Linked DNA regions of Homo sapiens: region 1 is linked to region 2. The links are contacts of gene promoters, found by promoter capture Hi-C in blood cells and fetal thymus (Javierre and others, 2016). All regions are on one chromosome and are shown on one strand. The core of a region is centred on a gene start or on the middle of the fragment in contact, and the rest is flanking DNA. Distances in the headings are between cores, read along the strand shown. Region 1 overlaps AIDA (axin interactor, dorsalization associated). Region 2 holds the start of BPNT1 (3'(2'), 5'-bisphosphate nucleotidase 1).

Region 1 (3,083 bases), core at 356-2,855, 2.6 Mb before region 2:
ATGGTGAGATATTTTGCTGTTTCACTGACTCGATAATTTTTATTGCCGTTTCAAACCACATACTGTAATTGGTATAGCTTCCAGTTCTATAAATTTCTATCTGATTTGGTTGTTTTCCTGCTTACTGTACTTCTGTAGCAAACAAGAAGCAGATGATGTAAATCATGAAGTGGGCAGATTAAGGTCTTTATGGGGTTCAGGTTGCTAAGTTGAAAAGGAACTTCTACCATAAATTAAATCCATTTGCTATGTAAGATAAAGCCCAAACTGAATTTGTATTCTGATATAGCATTGTGATATTTCATTTCAGAGATACAGATGCCTTACTGAACCTTTCTAGTCCCTGAATTTTTTTCCCCCCTAAAAGAAAGAGTATGTATGGTTTAATTAGCTATATTTGGTTTGGGATCATATTGTTCAGGGCCTGTGTTATTAAAAAATAACTTGTAAAATTATATTCATTGAAAATGTCATTGAAATAGCAAGATGATACTTAACTTTTAATTATAGAGCAAGAAAAACTTTCTTGTTACCCAAAGGGAACCCAAAATTTAAAATCAGTTTTACTAGGATATTTACATATGTGAAATTCACTTGGCTGGGCACAGTGGCTCATGCCTGTAATTCCAAGACTTTGGGAGGCCGAGGCAGGTGAATCACCTGAGGTCAGGAGTTCGAGACCAGCCTGGCCAACATGGTGAAACCCCGTCTCTACTAAAAATACAAAAATTAGCCAGGCGTGGTGGTGGGCACCTGTAATCTCAGCTACTTGGGAAGCTGAGGCAGGAGAATTGCTGGAACCTGGGAGGCGGAGGTGCCGTGAGCTAAGGTTGTGCCATTGTACTCCAACCCAGGCTAACAACAGCCAGACTCCGTCTCAAAAAAAAAAAAGAAATTCATTCTTTTTAATATGTACCTTTAATGAGTTTTGACCAACTCATATACTAACCACTACCACTGTTAAGATAATGAGGTGTGAGGGTATGATGTATGGTATGTAGATACGGAATGACCAAGAATAGTTTTTTTCTGATTTAAAATTTAAAATTAAAAACTTTTTAGCCAGCCTTTCATGAAAATAAAAAAAAGGTAGTCAAGCTTACTTACCTTTCTTGATATTAATCTCCTTCCTTCCTTTTCAAAATATTTAAATTTTTTAAGACAAACATATTTATGTTATATAATTGGCTTAGCCAAAATGGGAGTTAACTTTTCTAAAGATAGTCTTGGTAGATTTCATTTAAATAGAAAGTATAAGCTTATAGCCTATTATTTATAACCTAAAAATTTACTGATAGTCTTGAATAGTAAAGCTATAAAATGATAAACCAAAGCAATATAACTTTAAAAATAGCCAAGACACAACTTTACACAAGACTTTTAAAAAGATTTTCTTACTAAGTAACATGATCCAAGCTCAAATAGTCCTAGCAGTTTCAGAATTATTATACATAGGTACTGGTTCTTCATCTCTTACGTAGGCTTATGTATGCATAAAACATTATTTTTGAAACTCAAAATAAAGAATGAAATTTACCTATTTAATGTCAAACCTGTATTTGTTTTCTGCTGCATAACTATTCAATTCTGAGTTGAACTTGAAAGATAAGAAAGCATGGATTTTATTTTCCGCTGAAATGAAGCAGTTTCTTTTCTTGCTAACACACATGTAAGAAAGTCAAAAACTGCAGCAAATGTTCATTGCTTTCCTGTGACTATCAGGGCTTTCCTTTTTTGTGGAAATCCAGAACATGTTTAGGGGCCAAGCAGTTAATATCATCTGAAGTGTATGGTTGTGTTTACAAACAACTTTAATCAGGTATAGTTTTAATTCAACAGACCTACATACGATATTATTTCAATGATAATGGCCCCTAAGATTTTGTCAAACTTTTAAGATAATTTCAAAATGAACAAACTTATAATTTCAAAGCCTTTCTCTTAAAAGCTTGAGGAACCCATGTTCCTCAACTGCTTATCAATTGCTAGCTAAAATAAATTGCATATGTATTTTAATATTTTACAACGATTTCTATCTCTAAATGTAACTCAGCAATTCAAACAAATAAATGGTATCACTATGACCTGTTATCTATGTGCAATGCAAATTGCAAAGATTTTCTATTGCCAGATTTTCAAGACACATTTCATGTGTTATCTTCCATCTACCAAATATTGTAGCCAGTTTGAGCAGTATCTTTACCTTAAACTGTGTTAAAAATTATCTCAAAATAATGCAAAGCATTATCAAGTATGTATATTTTTATTATGTTTTGGCAGCACAAAGAAATATATACTCAAAAAAAATTTGGATGACTGAGAAAATCAGATATGTACCAGATATGCAAATTTAATTACAAGTATGATAAGTTAAAAATGGTGGAAACTAGCAATGCATATATTATCATGGGTATATATATTATCATATGTATATATTATGATAATGTTGAGTTTGCATTTTAGACACCTGATTGAATTCTGTCCTAAAAGTGTGGATAAAAAATTATGTACTCTTTGTTCATGACATTTAATTTTCAAAGCACCAAGGCAACATAAGGACTGACCTCTCATTGAAGTACCAGTGCCTGTGACAAGCATCTATAAAATATCATATAAAAATCAAATAAACTTAATAAGCAAATTCAAATCACGATGTTTTCAGAAGATACAATCCTTAGTAATTTTCTGAGAAGGCATTGCCTCTTTAACGTTCTGGTCTAGGTGGTGATATACTACTATTTTAGAACAAAGACCATCATGCCATTTGCCCTTCTGGACCAAAAGAAAAATTTTCCTTTGGTGGTGGTATATGATGTAAACAGTAGCAATTTTTTTAAAAGCAGAAATAATAAGACAAAAAAGGAAATGGCAGCCTTCCTCTTCTCTGTGTGAAGACAGGGTCTTAAAGGATTTCACTGACTTCAAGTCCCTTCCATGTAACCCCAGACTCCTCATCCATTCATAGTCTGGTTCTCCGTAATCTCCATTGTCCAGAGTGCCTTTGGCCACACACAGAACTAGTCAATGTGAGAAGATCCTACTCCTTGCTGGGATCTCCATTTTTATCAGCTTCCTCTTGGAAC
Region 2 (3,220 bases), core at 569-3,068:
AAATAAAATAAAATGCACTTCATCTTTGACCCACGGTTTCACATCTGGGATCTATCACAGCTATAGTCTTCCAGGAGCACAAAGATATATTTACATAGAAACTCTCCTAACCAACCTCTACATAACTTGCTGAATTCAACTATGCCGTTTTCTCGTAAAACCTATGAGAGGATACAATGAACACTTGGGAGATGGCTACTCTTTAGGATGACTGCAGATTTCTATTCTCACTTGTTGAGCTTACCTTGCATTATGTTTGTCTTTATTTAAGCCATTTGTACTTGTCATGTAATTATACAATTTAATTATAAAAACCAAAGTATGGCCAGGTGCAGTGGCTCATGCCTGTAATCTCAGCACTTTGGGAGGCCGAGGCGGGCGGATCATGAGGTCAGGAGTTCGAGACCAGCCTGGCCAACATGGTGAAACCCCGTCTTTACTAAAAAAAAAAAAAATGCAAAAACTAGCTGGGCTGGGTGGTGTGCGCCTGTAGTCCCAGTTACTCAGGAGGCTGAAGCAGGAGAATAGCTTGAACCCTGGGAGGCAGAGGTTGCAGTGAGCCGAGATCAAGCCATTGCACTCCAGCCTGGGCGACAGAGTAAGACGCCGTCTCAAAAAATATATATATGTATATATGTGTGTGTGTGTGTGTGTGTATATATATATATATATATATATATATATATATATATATGGTTAAAGTAATATAATTTAAGTTATGTATATTTTTCCACTTCCCAAAAAGGGTCTACTTAACTCACAGAGTTATTGTGAAAATCAAATGAAGACGTAAAAGCCTTTTTAAGCTGGGCGCAGTGGCTCACACCTGTAATCCCAGCACTTTGGGAGGCCGAGGTGAGCAGATCACCTGGGGTCAGGAGTTCAAGACCAGCCTGGCCAATATGATGAAACCCCGTCTCTACTTAAAAAACAAACAAAATTAGCCCGGCGTGGTGGCGCGCCTGTAGTCCTAGCTACTTGGGAGGCTAAGGAGGAAGGATCGCTTGAACCCAGGAGGAGGAGGTTGTAGTGAACCTAGACTGCGCCACTGCACTCCAGCCTGGGCGACAGGATGAGACACTGCCCCCTTCCCCAACCACGCCCCCCAGTAAAAGATCCCATCTGTACACAAAAAATATTTTAATTAGCTGGGTGTGGTGGCGCGCACCTCCACCAGTAGTCCCAGCTACACGGAAGGCTGAGGCGGGAGGATGGCTTGAGCCTAGAAGTGGGAAGGCAGCAGTGAGCCGTAATCGACTCTGGGCGACAGAGCAAGCTATCTATCGCTTAAAAAAAAAAAAAAAAAAAAAAAAAAAAAGGTAAGCAAGCATCTTTGACACAATTCTGCATAAAGTTGCTGTGTTATTGCGTGGGGAGTGGGAGGTGGAGGTGTGTGTGGTGGACCTGCTGAAGCCTGTCCACGGACCGCTAGGGGTTCGAAGTTAAATAGCCGCAGAGTGGTATCACTAATACAAAGAACATTTTAAAACAGTGAACTCTACGAAGTGGGCTGGAAGACAGCTGAAACCAAAACCAATCTTTTTTTTGTTTCAACACACTGTTGCTGGCTTAATGTGTTCTTTCCTTCTTCTTTTTCTTTTTTTAGCCAATCTTTGAAAGTTGACACATCTTTCGCTTTTATTTAATGCAACAGGTGACTTGCACCTACGGAGAGCTTGGAGAAAACACGGACAAGTGGAATTTTCCCGCGGATCAGGAGTCTAAAGAGGCAGTGTGAAATCGCTGTTGTGCGCTTGCGCGCAGTTTCCCGCATGCTCAGTAGCTGAGGTAGGGATGCCATCCTTCTCAAAAGACTTATTGACAGTGCCAAAGCTCGGTACTGGACACAACGAGGGACCTGGGTCTACGATAACGCGCTTTTGCTCCTCCTGAAGTGTCTTTGGTCCAACGTTGTTCCAGGTTTGTCACCGTTTCTCTCCGGCCGGTCAGGGCAAGAGCCAGGTAGATAGGATTTATGTTAAAAAAATAAAACGAAAAAGGTTTATGTGAATCAGATTGCTTCTCCAGATATTCTAACTTCCGACTTGGACTCTTGAGTGTCGATATTTTAATTGTTTATCTGTGCTTTTATTTTCGTGATCCGGAAGGTTTTTATAGCCATATACTGTAGAAACAAGACAAACCTAGACATTGAGTTTGTTGATGCACCCAAATTTAGAAACTGCTTGGTACCTAAAATTAAATTTCTTTAAACAGCAAATATTCTTCCAACTGCCATTTCTACATATTTATAGGTTTGCGTGATTTATTTGGATTTCTCTGTAAATATAATTGTTGGTTCAAAAGATACGTACTTTATACTTTTATTAAGGTTCTCAAAACTCTCCTAAGAGGGTTCACCGCTTTGCCAACAATGCTCAGGAACATGTTCCCTCACACCCTTGCAAACTGGACAAAGGACAAACTCTTCTTCTTTCTTCTTTTTTCTTCTTCTTCTTCCTCCTCCTTCCTCCTCCTTCTTTTTTTTTTTTTTTTTTTTTTTTCGAGACGGAGTCTCGCTCTGTCGCCCAGGCTTGAGTGCAGTGGTGCAATCTCGGCTCACTGCAAGCTCCACCTCCCAGGTTCACGCCATTCTCCTGCCTCAGCCTCCCGAGTAGCTGGGACTACAGGCGCCCACCACCAAGCCTGGCTAATTTTTTTTGTATTTTTAGTAGAGACGGGGTTTCACCGTGTTAGTCAGGATGGTTTCGATCTCCTGACCTCGTGATCTGCCCGTCTCGGCCTCCCAAAGTGCTGGGATTACAGGCGTGAGCCACCGCGCCCAGCCTTTCTTTCTTTCTTTTTTTTTTTTTTTTAAGACAGGTTCTAGCTCTGTCCCCCAGGCTGGAGTACAGTGGTGCCATTATGTCTCACTGCAACCTTGACCTCCCAGGGTCTGGTGATTCTCCCACCTCAGCCTCCCGAGCAGCTGGGACTACAGGCATGTGCCACCACACCATCTAATTTTTGCATTTTTTTGTAGAGACGAGGTTTTGCCATGTTGCCCAGGCTGGTCTCGAACTCCTGAGCTCAAGCAATACACCAGCCTTGGCCTCCCAAAAAGTTCTAGGATTACGGGTGTGAGCCACTGCATTCAGCGACAATTTTTTTTTTTTTTTTTTTTTTTGAGTCGGAGTCTCTGTCGCCCAGGCTGGACTGCAGTGGCGCGATCTCGGCTCACCACAACCTCTGCCTCCTATGTTCAAGCAATTTTCCTGCC

What was found. Contacts are between HindIII fragments. The CHiCAGO score rates a contact against its expected background, and 5 or more counts as called.
Region 1: a contact is called between a fragment that was not itself captured here and the fragment with the promoter of BPNT1 in region 2, in 1 of 17 cell types (M2 macrophages). The highest score is 6.4, in M2 macrophages.

The regions. Positions count from the first base shown.
Region 1 is chr1:222,681,925-222,685,007 of GRCh38, reverse strand. The region is part of intron 6 of AIDA (axin interactor, dorsalization associated); the gene reads left to right. Among named protein-coding and RNA genes, the nearest start is that of AIDA, 29 kb to the left of the region's middle. The HindIII fragment of the contact is 690 bases long and covers 1,261-1,950 here.
Region 2 is chr1:220,088,386-220,091,605 of GRCh38, reverse strand. It overlaps BPNT1 (3'(2'), 5'-bisphosphate nucleotidase 1), which reads left to right and starts at 1,818. Exons shown (of 9, transcript NM_006085.6): 1 at 1,818-1,920. RefSeq lists an enhancer at 1,518-1,707. The HindIII fragment of the contact is 18,631 bases long and covers 1-3,220 here.